Linked DNA regions of Homo sapiens: region 1 is linked to region 2. Evidence: promoter capture Hi-C in 16 types of primary human blood cells and fetal thymus (Javierre and others, 2016). All regions are on one chromosome and are shown on one strand. The core of a region is centred on a gene start or on the middle of the fragment in contact, and the rest is flanking DNA. Distances in the headings are between cores, read along the strand shown.

What was found. Contacts are between HindIII fragments. The CHiCAGO score rates a contact against its expected background, and 5 or more counts as called.
Region 1: a fragment that was not itself captured here is called in contact with the fragment with the promoter of NAF1 in region 2 in 2 of 17 cell types (total CD4 T cells and naive CD8 T cells); the score reaches 6.4 in total CD4 T cells.

Annotation. Positions count from the first base shown.
Region 1 is chr4:165,114,547-165,121,706 of GRCh38, reverse strand. No RefSeq gene overlaps it. Among named protein-coding and RNA genes, the nearest start is that of TMEM192, 5.3 kb to the right of the region's middle. The HindIII fragment of the contact is 7,778 bases long and covers 1-7,038 here.
Region 2 is chr4:163,162,786-163,169,204 of GRCh38, reverse strand. It overlaps NAF1 (nuclear assembly factor 1 ribonucleoprotein), which reads left to right and starts at 2,315. Exons shown (of 8, transcript NM_138386.3): 1 at 2,315-2,842; 2 at 4,814-4,988. The coding sequence starts at 2,478. RefSeq lists enhancers at 2,362-2,561, 2,582-2,701, 2,732-2,811, 2,303-3,170. The HindIII fragment of the contact is 3,845 bases long and covers 1,168-5,012 here.

The DNA.
Region 1 (7,160 bases), core at 1,900-4,399, 2.0 Mb before region 2:
AGCTCTGTTGCCCAGGCTGGAGTACAGTGGTGTGATCTCAGCTAACTGCAGCCTCCGTCTCCTGGGTTCAAGCAATTCTCGTGCCTCAGCCTCCTGAGTAGCTGGGACTACAGGCATGCACCACCATGCCCAGCTAATTTTTGTATATATTTTTTAGTAGAGATGGGGTTTCACTATGTTGACCAGGTTGGTCTTGAACTCCTGACCTCAGGTGATCCACCTGCCTTGGCTTCCCAAAGTGCTGGGATTACAGGCATGAGCCGCCATGCCCAGTCCTACTTCTTGAAGACTATTCTTTCTCCGTTGAATGATCTTTGTATCCTTGTTGAAAATCAATTGACCACAGATGAGTGGTTTTATTTCTGTGATTGATTTTATTGTTCTATATGTCTATCTTTACACCAGTACCATACTGTTTTGCTTACTGTAGCTTTGTAGTACGTTTTGAAATCAGGAAGTAGGAGTCTTCCAAGTTTTGTGTTGATTATATATCCTGAAACTTTTCTGAATTGATTGATTAGCTGTAATAGTTTTTTCATGAATTCTTTCAGGTTTTTATTTTCTTAATTTTTAATTTTTATTTTTTTTGAAAAGGAGTCTCTTTCTGTTGTCCAGGTTGGAGTGCAGTGCACAATCTTGGCTTACTGCATCCTCTGCCTCTGCCTCCTGGATTCAAATAATTCTCGTGCCTCAGCCTCCTGAGCAGCTGGAATTACAGGCATGTGCCACCATATCTCGCTGATTTTTGTATTTTTAGTAGAGACGAGGTTATGCCATGTTGCCCAGACTGGTTTCAAACTCCTAGCCTCAAGCAATCCACCCTCCTCAGCCTCTCAAAGTGCTGGGATTACAGGTGTGAGCCAATGTGCCCAGCCAGAGTTTTTTAGATTTAACATTATGTCTTCTATGAATAGAAATAGTTTCACATCTTCCTATTTTGTTTCCTCTGGTCCTTGATTTAGAAGTTTCTTTTTAATTTGAATACCATTTATTTCTTTTTCTTGCTTAATTTTTCTGGCTCTGTAAACTTTCATAGCATACATTTGCCTATGAAAATAGTTGGGTTTTGCATTATATTTGTATTCTTTTTTCATGGATAAAATTATAGCATAGCTATTATTTTGCAACCTGCTTTTGTAACATATTATATTAAAGGCCTATTTATTTTGCCAGTGTATGTAGATCTACCTCATTTTTCAAATGGTTGAATAGTCTTCTAAGTTTAGATATCATAGTTTTTTTATTCATTCCTTAAATAATGGATATTTATGTTGCTTTTAGTTATTTGTCATTTGTATTTTAACTTTATGTTTTCTTTTTTCTTATGCAAAAGTTTCAAACTTTTTATGTAGTCAAATTTCTTGAATCTTTTTCTTTATTGTTTTGTATTCGGGGTAATGCATGGAAAGTATTGTAAGACCACATTAAAATATTTTTTCTAGAAATTCTGTTGGTTTGATTTCACCTTTTTTTCTTTTAATTTTTTTTTTTTTTTTTTTTTGTGAGACAGGGTCTTGCTCTGTCACCCAGGCTGGAGTGCAGTGTTGTAATCATTGCTCACTCCAGCCTTGAACTCCAGGCTCCAGTGATCCTCCTGCCTCAGCCTCCCAAGTGCTGGGATTACAAGCATGAGCTATCACAGCCAACTACTTATTTTTTATGTTTTAGTCTGAATCATTAGTAATTAATTTTGGTTTAAGAAATGAGGAGTAGACTGGGCGCGATGGCTCATACCTGTAATCCCAGCATTTTGGGAGGCCAAGGTGGGCGGATCACTTGAGGTTAGGAGTTTGAGACCAGCCTAGCCAACATGGTGAAACCCGTCTCTACTAAAAATACAAAAATTAGCCAGGCGTGATGGTGCGCAGCTGTAATCCCAGCTACTCTGGAGGCTGAGGCAGGAGAATTGCTTGAATCCGGGAGGCAGAGGTTGCAGTGAGCCAAGATTGCACCACTGCACTCCAGCCTGGGTGACAGAGCGAAACTCTGTCTCAAAAAAAAAGAAAAAGAAAAAAATAAAGAAAAAGAAATGGGGAGTGATTCAGCTTTTTTTTCTTCCAAGTGGCTGGTGGGTTTTCTCAACATCATTATTAAATTATCCATCAGGTCGGGCGCGGTGGCTCACACCTGTAATCCCAGCTCTTTGGGAGACTGAGGCAGTCAGATCACCTGAGGTCAGGAGTTTGAGGTCAGCCTGGCCATCATGGTGAAACTCCATCTCTACTAAAAATACAAAAAAATTAGTTGGGCGTGGTGGCAGGTGCCCATATTCCCAGCGACTTGGAAGGATGAGGCAGGAGAACCGCTTGAACCTGGCAGGCGGAGGTTGCAGTGAGACGAGATCCTGCCATCGGACTCCAGCAACAGAGTGAGACTCCATCTCAAAATAAATAAATAAATAAATAATCCATCAACTGGGGATTACTTTTAAAAGAAATATAAAAGTCAAGTTGGAAAGGAACTAGGCCCCTTTGATTCCTAGAACGGTTGTACAAAGACTGAGACTCAGCAGAGTGAGCTTCCTGAAAGAGGGTAAAGCCTCATATAGTTTGGAACTGAATCAGAGCCAGATTAGGGAGCTACTGCTCAGCTCAGTGTGGAGAATCAAAATAATTATTTTATAAGTTATTTGGGGATACCTTCAAATATTCTTTTAGACCTCAACACACAGCATTATGAATTGTATTGTAAAAGAAAAGTTTTACTTCTTAACTGTCTAGAACTTAATTAAAAGAGATATCACTACAAAGCACTTAAAGCCCCATCTTCTGATTATTTCTGAAATAAGGAGTTCCTCCCATGAGAATGCTGCCGACTGCTTGGGCTGGATGCCTGAGCCTGGTACTTGGCATTAAAGAAGAATCAGGAGTGAGTGGAGATTAGACAAGGTCAGCTCTATAATCACTAAGTAGTAGCCTTGAGTTTCATGAAGGTTACAAAATTCATTTTCACCCTGAGTTTCGGTATGTGTTTTCTAAAACCTTTCAGAGAAATTGTGGTTTTGGTCTGAAACTTCACATATTTGGTGTCTATCCAAACATGAATTACTTTTGGGATTTTTAGCAAACTTTTTTTTCTGCTCCTGAGTCAGTGAAACAAACAAACAAACAAAATTCTGCCTTCAAAAATAAGTGTGCTTTTAAATGCCAGGATTTGAGATCATAAGAACTTTAGGAGAAAACAAACAATAATGAGAGGGCAAGTACTGGATATCAAGCCTGAAACTTTACAAGCCCTGAGACCTCTAACAGAGTCCATTATCACTCAAATGTGGAATGTTTGGTTACAACGGGACTCTATTTGTGGTACAGGTGCTTTGAAAGATACAAACATTTACGAAACAAATAAGTGGAAACTGGAATGTTTCCAATTGCTTACAATATCCTTAAATTTCTTTCTAGAAAAAAAAATTTTTCCAGAAAAAAGTACATAAACTAAATATAATTTGATATGCTAAAATAACTATTGACCTCCTTTTTTTGTCTGTTCATTGAAAGGGAATTTTTCAATGGCATCTCTCTAAGTACCTAAGAGAGATTTAGCTACAAAACATTATCCAAAGACAGAATTTTGGATATCTTCATTTCTGACAATGGTATAGGGCAGCCTAAGAGAATTGTAGAAATATTTAGCTAGGATCAACTTGTTCTAAAATTTTATTTAAAAGGCAAGTTAAGAAAAAAAAAATAAGTATGGGAGGTGGTAAATACATTAATTAGCTTGATTCAATCATTCTGCAATGTATCCATATACCAAAACATCATGTTGAACATCATAAATATATATAACTTTTATTTATTGATTAAAAATAAATTTAGGCTGAGCACAGTGGCTTATGCCTATAATCCCAGCACTTTGGGAGACCGAGGTGGGAGGACTGCTTGAGCCCAGGAGATCAAGACCAGCCTTGGCAACATAGTGAGACCCCATCTTTATTCAATAAATAAATAAATAAATCCATTTCAAAGGCAGATTAAAGTCAATATCAGTAAAGAGATCCTGCTTTAAAATTAACAAAAATATCAATTAAGTACCTATTGTTTGTATGCATGTTACGTTATGCCAGGCTGAATAATAGAAATCATAGTGAATAAAGGACAGATTTTGATGTTGAAAAAAAATCAATGAGATATTATTAACATTTTAATATCTGTGATCAGGAATGAGCACGGTGCCTGGAACAATGCTGATGGTGACAACACAGGAAAGATGGGGCTTCAGTCCAGCATCTTCTAATGGTGAACTGTTTGGTAGCATAGAGGTGGAAAGGTCATGGCTGACACTCCTATAACAAAAGCCAGATTAACAAGAGAAAAGCATAACAGATTTATTTATTTATTTATTTAAGAGGGAGTCTCGCTCTGTCACCCAGGCTGGAGTGCAGTGGCGCGATCTCGGCTCACTGCAACCTCTGCCTCCCGGGTTCAAGCAATTCTCCTGCCTCAGCCTCCTGAGTAGCTGGGATTACAGGTGATCTAATGACAATAGACTGAGTAGGGATAAGAATTTACAAGCATCTACTTTAATGCTTAGTACCAGGGTCAGCAAGGCCTGTTTGTTCAAAAGTCATAGAGAAACTTGGCTTTTGAGGCCTGCCAATGTGTCCTTCACTTCAAGTACTCAGCATGCAAAAGCACTATACTTGTGATATTATCCTCTTCTTTTTTTTTGTTGTTGTTGTTGAGACAGGGTCTTGCTCTGTCACACAGGCTGGAGTGCACTGGCATGATCTCGGCTCACTGCAACCTCTGCCTCCCAGGTTCAAGAAATTCTTGTGCCTCAGCCTCCTGAGTGGCTGAAACTACAGGCACGCACCACCACACCTGGTTAATTTTTGTATTTTTGATAGAGACGGGGTTTCACCATTTTGGCCAGGCTAGTTGCATTTTTAAACTTTTAAATCTGAAAAGTGTCTTGCTCTGTTGCCCAGGCTGGAGTGCAGTGGTGCAATCTCCGCTTCTGGGTTCAAACCATTCTCCTGCCTCAGCCTCCTGAGTAGCTGGGATTACAGGCGCATGCCACCATGCCTGGCTAATTTTTGTATTTTTAGTAGAAATGGGGTTTCGTCTGTTGGCCAGGCTGGTCTTGAAGTCTTAATGTCAGGTGATTCGCCCGCCTTGGCCCCCCAAAGTGCTGGGATTACAGGTGTGAGCCACTGCGCCTAGCCGATATTATCTTCTGAGCCCCAACACTAGGAAAACAGCTTCTCTCCTCCTCTCCTTACTCCTCATAAGTAAATAAACGCAAGAATCTTCACCAAAAGATCTTTAGTCATACAAAAATGAAGTGTCAGATACTTTTTAAATATAACTTATTTACAGGGCTATGCTTATATAAATTGCTTTAACAGTCATTAGAGCATTATATGGGCTGAGAACATATTTTTAATATATTATTAAAACAATGGGTCTGGCATGGTGGCTCTTGCCTGTAATCCCAGCACTTTGGGAAGCCGAGGCAGAAGAATCACTTGAGACCAGGAGTTCAAGACCAGCCTATAGTGAGACTCTGTCTTTACAAACAAAAAACAAACAAAAATGATTATGTATGTTAATAATGCCTTAATAAATCTGATTTAGACAAAAAATGACTAACATTTGCTTAGTGCTTTGTAGAGACAACATTGTATAAAGAGCATTACATGCATTATTTTATTTAATAGAAAATCTCTGGCTGGGCACAGTGGCTCACGCCTGTAATCCCAGCACTTTGGGAGGCTGAGGTGGGCAGATCACTTGAGGTCAGGAGTTCAAGACCAGCCTGGCCAACATGGTGAAACGCTGTCTCTACTAAAAATGCAAAAATTAGCCAGGCATGGTGGCTGACGCCTGTAATCTCAGCTACTTGGGAGGCTGAGGCAGGAGAATGACTTGAATCTGGGAGGCAGAGGTTGCACTGAGCCAAGATCACGCCATTGCACACCAGCCTGAGCGACAAGAGTGAAACTCTATCTCAAAACAAAACAAAACAAAACAAAAGGAAAGAAAATTTCTGTAAAAGGGAAACTAAAACTTCCCCACCTCAGCCTCCAAAGTAGCTGCTACTACAGGTGCACGTCACCACACCTAGCTAATGTTCTAATCTTTTGTAGAGACAGAGACTCACCATGTTGCCCAGGCTAGTCCCGTACTCCAGGCACCAAACAATCCTCCTGCCTTGGTGTCTCAACATGCTAGGGGCCATAGGCATGAGCCACCTTGCCCAGTCAGCTCCTAAGAACTTAAGCTAAGTGCCCAATATCACATGCTTGGTAAGATGCAGAACTCAAACCTCCATGACTAATTCTGGAGCCCTGGTCTTAACCAGTGTGCTGTCCCTGTGAAAGTACATGTCTTGGCTAGGTGCAGTGGCTCACACCTGTAATCCCTGTACTTTGGGAGACTGAGGCGGGAGGGTGGCTTGAGACCAGGAGTTTTGAGACCAGCGTGGGCAACATAACAAAGTCCCATCTTCACAAAAAGAAAAATCTTAAAAATAAGCCTGGTATGGATGTGTGAACATATAGTCCCAGATGCTTGGGAGGCTGAAGAGGGAGGATTGTTTGAGCCCAGGAGGTTGAGGCTGCAGTGAGCTATGATAGCGCCCCTGTGCTCCAGCCTGGTTAACAGAGTGAGATCCTGTGTCGAAAACAACAACAGAAAAGCATGTCTTGACATAATAATGAAATGAAATGTGTGAACCTTGATTGGATTCTGGTTACTGAAAAAGAAAAAACAGCAGCTGGGCCAGGCACAGTGGTGTATGCCTGTTATCCAAGCTACTTGGGAGGCTGAGGTGGGAGGATTGCTTGAACTCAGGAGTGTGAATCCAGCCTGGGCAACATAGCAAGACTCCATCTCAAAAACAAAACAAAACAAAATAAAACAAAAAAAGCAGCTAAAAAAGACATTTTGGAAACAACTTAGAAAATTTTTGCCATAGATTGGTTATTAGTAAACATGGAATTACTATTAGTTGTGTGTAATATTGATATTGTGGTTATGAAAGAAAATATAAAATATCCTTATTTTAGGCAACAAAGTATCTAGGAATGAAGCTTCATATTGTCTTCAATTTACTTTCAAGTAGTTCAGTTAAAAAATGGCCAGGCACGGTGGCTCACACCTGTAATCCCAGCACTTTGGGAGGCCAAGGCAGGCGGATCACAAGGTCAGGAGATC
Region 2 (6,419 bases), core at 1,066-3,565:
ACAAATGAGTATTTCAATTATCCCATAACTTAGGCTTCTGGTCTTAACCTTTCTGTCAAATTCCAGTTTCTTATTTTTAAATGCCTATTTACATTTTTAATTGTCTAGTTTTTCTTCAGACTCAACTTCACATACCCACATCTCTTTCCAACTTCTCCGTTTAATTAATTAATTAATTAATTTGAGAGGGAGTTTCCCTCTTGTTGCCTAGGCTGGAGTGCAATGGTGCAATCTTGGCTCACTGCAGCCTTTGCCTCCTGAGTTCAAGCGATTCTCCTGCCTCAGCCTCCCAAGTAGCTGGGATTACAGGTGCCCACCACCATGCCCAGCTAAGTTTTTGTATTTTTAGAAGAGATGGGTTTTCGTCATGTTGGCCAGGCTGGTCTCAAACTCCCGGCCTCAGGTGATCTGCCTACCTCAGCCTCCCAAAATGCTGGAATTACAGGCGTGAGGCCCTGCGACTGGCCAACTTCTCCGTTTTTATTGGTAATACCAACTTCTTTCTAATTTCCTTGACCAGAAATTTTAGAGTACTTTTATTCTTCCCCTGATGCTGGGGATGTCCTTTACTCTATTTCATTGACTGTAAGCCTAGTTCAGACTTTTATCACCTAATTCCTGGAAAAATGCAACAAAGTGGCTGGCTGGGGAATAATTCTGGCTCAAACGTCTTCCCTTCTCAAATCTGTACTGCATGTCTTTGCAAGATCATTGTTAATTAAATATTTTATTCGTGAGTTCATGCATTGTTCCATTTTCCAAGTATTTTTGCACACTGAATGTATGACATGCCACTCCCTTATATAAAGCCTTACTTAGTGCTCACATGAACTAAATGAGATAGTATTTTTATCTCCATTTTACAGATAAGGAAATTAGGATTTAGATTAACTGCCCAAAGTCAGTAACACCAAACACAAAATGGTAGAGCTGAGGCCTGAACACAGGTCTTTTTAGTTGAAAACTCTGAGCTCTGCTTAATCATTGTGCTAGTAAGTTCGTATCCCAAGTTTAAAGTCCTTCTTCACTTTGGAGGATTTCCATGAAATAGCCTACCAATCCTACTTCCCATTTCTGCTGCACTTGGATTTTCTATTTCATATTTCAAATATTTTTCTAGTTATCTCCTGTGCATTGCCCTTCTCTACTTCAAGTAGATTGTAAGCTTCTTAAAACCTTACTCTTATTACACTTGCCTTGCATTTCTATGAAGATCTACTGTTGTAGATGACACACTAAATTCTCAGTGAATAATTTATAAAATCTTTAGCACAGTCCTTGGCACATATGCATGTTTAACAAATGGTATCAATGATTATTATTACTACACAGGGACTGATGCCTCAAACTGAAGACCTAATAGGAAACCAGAAAATTCTGATCTCTTCCTCAGTCCTAAGAACTCTGCTTGCTTTCTCCACAATTTAGACTAGTGGTTTCCAACAATAAGTGAGTACATTTCAGTCTCATAGTCTCATCTCTCTACTACGAAACAGTGCTAAGTATGATATAGACATCACCATAACATGAACAACACAGCAAAATTTTGTCCATTACTGCTCTCTTTGAGGGTACTTTGGAGAAAGGAAAATGGAATAGTTGTAGTTACATTTTTGAAAAAATGGTTAATACCCTATCTATCGACAGATGGATCTATTGATGGATAAACTTCATTTAACTTTCATGAAGTTACTAGCGTCTTGTCAAGACTTCCTGGCTCAAGTTTCTGATGTACAGAACTTAGCATTCTTCAGGCACCCCCCTGTTGTATAATCCCTGCTTCATTTTGGCGCTTCAAGCAGAATTGGTTCACATGCAGCAATAGGAAAATCCGACATTCAGGCCTTGAATGGTTCACATGACGCAGTGAAAACGGTCGATTTAGGGCCTCCCTAGTCCTGATTATTTTTTTTTGAGACGGAGTCTCGCTTTCTCGCCAGGCTGGAGTGCAGTGGCGCGGTCTCGGCTCACTCCAACTTCCGCCTGCTGGGTTCAAGCGATTCTCCTGCCTCAGCCTCCCAAGTAGTGGGAATTACAGGCACGCGCCACCATGCCCAGCTAATTTTTGTATTTTTAGTAGAGATGGGGTTTCACCATGTTGGGCAGGCTGGTCTGTGAACTCCTGACCTTGTGATCCGCCCACCTCGGTCTCCCAAAGTGCTGGGATTACGAGCGTGAGCCACGGCGCCCGACCCCCTAATCCTGATTTTCGAAGATATGACGCATGTATCCTGCCCCCGCGAGCGCCGTCGCGCCGTCGCGCCACATACGTCACACGCTCTTCGGAAAGCGTTGCTGCGTAAATGGCGGGGGCGTGTCTTTTGGCTCCTCCGCGTGTAGTTACCTGAGAAACGCGGGAAGTTGGGCCCAGGCAGTGTTGCTGCGGTTGCCTAAGTTGTTTTTCTATTTCTGGAGAGAGCCGTGAGCTTGTCCAGGGGCCCCAATCCTGAGGCCGACCCGGTTTCTGGCGCGGTGCGATGGAGGTAGTGGAGGCCGCCGCCGCTCAGCTGGAAACTCTGAAATTCAATGGCACCGACTTTGGAGTTGGGGAAGGTCCGGCGGCTCCGTCTCCGGGCTCTGCCCCTGTGCCAGGGACACAGCCGCCGCTACAGTCGTTTGAGGGGTCCCCGGACGCTGGGCAGACCGTGGAGGTTAAGCCTGCCGGGGAGCAGCCTCTGCAGCCCGTTCTGAACGCCGTCGCGGCCGGGACCCCGGCGCCGCAGCCACAGCCACCGGCTGAATCGCCGGCCTGCGGAGACTGCGTCACCTCCCCAGGAGCCGCAGAGCCTGCGCGGGCGCCGGACTCCTTGGAGACCTCGGACTCGGATTCGGACTCGGACAGGTCGGGTGCCTAAGGGACCCGGAGCTGTGGGGAGAGGTCTTGTATGACGGGCGGGGGTGGCTGGGGCCTAGGAGCCTAGAGGTTGCTTGTGTGGGCCCTGGAGGGTGGGCAGGTCGTTGGTGCTCCGGGCTCACGTGTTGAAGTATTGGCTCCGACTGCCCCTTATTCGCTGCCTCTCAAAGCAGGTCGCGTTGTGAATCTGAGCTTAGTACTGACTTATTTCCTAAATTTGGTGGCCTGAAGGGTTCTATGTATAGATCGTATCATTTTTTGTTAGACTTTAGAAAACCCGAGGATCTTAGGTTATTTCCGTAACTACTCAGTTTAGGCTGTACTTTTGTGGTTATAGTTGAGTTTTGTGTCAGATCTGATTTTTTTTTATCATCACATCTAGGCTTTGTTTTTTGAACCACATACATTGGGGATCAGGAAAAGTATTATTTTTTGTGTTTCAAAGCTGGCTCTTGATGATTACGTTAATTTATAGAATCCTTGCAGGGAACACGTGTTTATGAAAGTAGCCAAACAGTGTTATTTAGTAGTATCTTATGCTTCTTACGTTTTGTGAGAGCCTTTCCCCCTTGCCCCCACACCTGTCTTTTAAATATGAAATCTCTGGGCTGGAGAGGACTCCAGCATGTGGGATGTTACTAAACCACACTGAACATTGTCTACAAATAGTTGAGTGTGTTGAGTGGGGTACTGAACAGGTTAACAAGATAGACACGTGTTGAGGAGGTGAGAAGTTTAGTTTTCAGGGAAGTCATCAGCGGAGAGTGGAAGTGAAGAAGGCTGAAGGATTTGAGTAGAAGGAGAGGGTATGAAATGTACTGGGAGGGGGAAGTAACAACTGTAAACAAGGTTGGATTTCTTGGCAGTACTAAGATTGCAGTATAATCATCTTGTGGGATTTCAGAGCTCATTTTACTAGCAAAGAAAAGTAAATGGTAGATGATTTGGGGATACGTTTTGAAAGCAGAAGGGATATGGCGTCATAATAGGCCAACTTAGTGTCAGGATACTACTTCTGACTCTGTGGGTGATGGCAGAGGATACCAAATATTTGAAGAAGTCAAAAGGGGTACAACTTTTTGCCAGTTAACAGCAGTGAAATCAAATGGAAACTGAAGAAGCAGGTTTAGTTAGTATAATGCACTTTTTCTTGTTTTAACTTGCTATGAGTGTGGGTGTATAGGCCATTCGTACAAAGGTGGCCAGTATGCCGTCAGAGATTGGACATGGAGTTTAGAGATGTCATAGCTGAAGATTTAGGCGTTAATTCACATGGATGATGACTGAAATCATTAATGTGTATGGGATTATCCATGAAAGTAGTAGCGAAAGAAGAGAAAGTGAGGATGGAACCCTTAAAAATAGTATATAAAAGGGCTTCAAGTGGGGAGCCAACAAACAAAATTTAAACTGAGACAGTGGTTGCTGTTAACGATAATTTCTGTGGAAGATAAGGACCAAGTGAGTTTTCAGAAAGTAGAATGGTCTACATACTTTCGTAACTGAGGATTTCCCAAGTTGTCTGTAGCCTGAGAAGAAACTCATTAAGCAATCTGGCAATTAAGCGATCTGGTGGTTGTGACTAAGAGAGGTGCCATGCCCAGAATTCCCTTTTTTTAGTGGTTTGTCACATGCTTGCTTATATTCAGACAGGTGTATGATATGTGAGAGTATTGTAATAAGAGGATCTGGGTTATGGCAAAGGTTTGAAAATGTTATTGGTAAACTAAATACTACTTTCCCAATACCATATCAGTTTTGAAGTGCTAGTTTTGAATTAGAACAGCAGTAGTAAACATGTAGTAAAGTTGATATTTCTTAATTGCATAATCTTATTTTAATATTAGAATAAGCAATAGTAAACTTGTATTAAAGTTGATATTTCTTAATTGAATAATCTTATTTTAATATTAGTATAATAATACTGGACTATTTTTTTAACTGTTTTCTTCCCTACAGTGAAACAGATTCAGATAGTTCAAGTTCATCGTCTTCCTCTTCATCTTCCTCATCGTCGTCTTCTTCCTCTTGTATATCACTTCCTCCAGTGCTGTCAGATGGAGATGATGATTTACAAATTGAGAAGGAAAATAAGAATTTTCCTCTTAAAACAAAAGATGAATTACTTCTTAATGTAAGTACTTAGATTTATTAAGCTTAGTTTGCATGTTTTAAAACGTATTCTGGTACCAGTATTGATCTAATTTTGCCTATATCTGCTCCATAAATTTGAAATTTATTCTCAGCCTAATAGGCATGCTTTTGGTATGCCTTGGCTTTCTTATGTAAAAGAGAGTAGTGATCTGGATAATTTCTTAGGTTGCTTCTAACTCTGCTGACCTTTGATAATTGTTCCGATTATGGCATCAACTTCAGCTTTGAACTTTACATTTTTTACATTCCCTAGAAGAAGATATTTCTTATGTAGATTTGCTTTTTTTTTTGGTCTGCACGTCAGAAAATTTTGCTCAATAGCAATTGAAATTTCAATAGCAATTGAAATCAATTTTTTTGGTCTGCACGTCAGAAAATTTTGCTCAATAGCAATTGACTTTTTAATTGACTGCATTTAGAGAAGTAGAAGATGAAATTCAGAGGGTTGAACTTGTTAGGATTCCTATTGAAGTTTTTGGAGTGTTTTTATTATTACAGTTGGAGAAAACTTGTTAATTGTAGAATGGTATTTATTGGCACTCGATAGGTTTGGTTTGCAAAGTTAACTCTTGCAAGGTTATTTCCTCTTATGCTGTAAACATCCTTAGGAGGATGATGTTAGTCTGATTGAAACCTATGACCCAAGAGGAAAGCCTTCTCAGAATTTCAGAATGTAGGCCATATTATCACATTGTTTTTTTTCTACCCCTGCATGTAGTTTTAATTATTAATGCTTTAAAAATATTTAATGGTCACTAATCATAATTCTTATATAACACTTAAATTGATGAGATAGTTTAATGCAAGATTTGAAAAAATAAATTAAAGCCTACAGGCACTCAGGAGCCTTTTTCATGAATGGATTCTGCCAGTCTGAATTATTTCTCTTTTTCTCTACTCATAACAAGAAATTCTCGTCTCGCTTATGCTTTATAACTTGAAGACCTTTGGATTTGTATGCAGCTTCATCAGTGGCTCATATTTTCATGCTACAGATATGTTAATATTTCTTAGTGGTCTTTGTACACAAAGGCTCCCAGCATAACTATTTTCTGAAAGTAGGAGACTTGTTTGGTCTTTCTTGCTTGTCTCTTGATCATTTTTCTACATAATTTCCTTATTAGAATATAATAACGAACAAAGAAAAGACCACAGTACTTCTGTAAATGCATACATATCATTGTCTTACTAGATTTGCAATTCTTACCTTGGGAATTTCTTCCAATTTAATGCAAAGTCTTAGCATATTTGTTTAGGTATTTTTCTGAACAGAATGTCCCTGTTTTCATCAGAAGATCAAAAAGGATTTGTGGCCACAAGGAGTCCAAGAACAAGTTCTTTGAGGACTGAGTTCATATGTGATCCTTGTAATTCCCATAGTCCCCAGTGGAGTGCTTTATAGATAATGGGT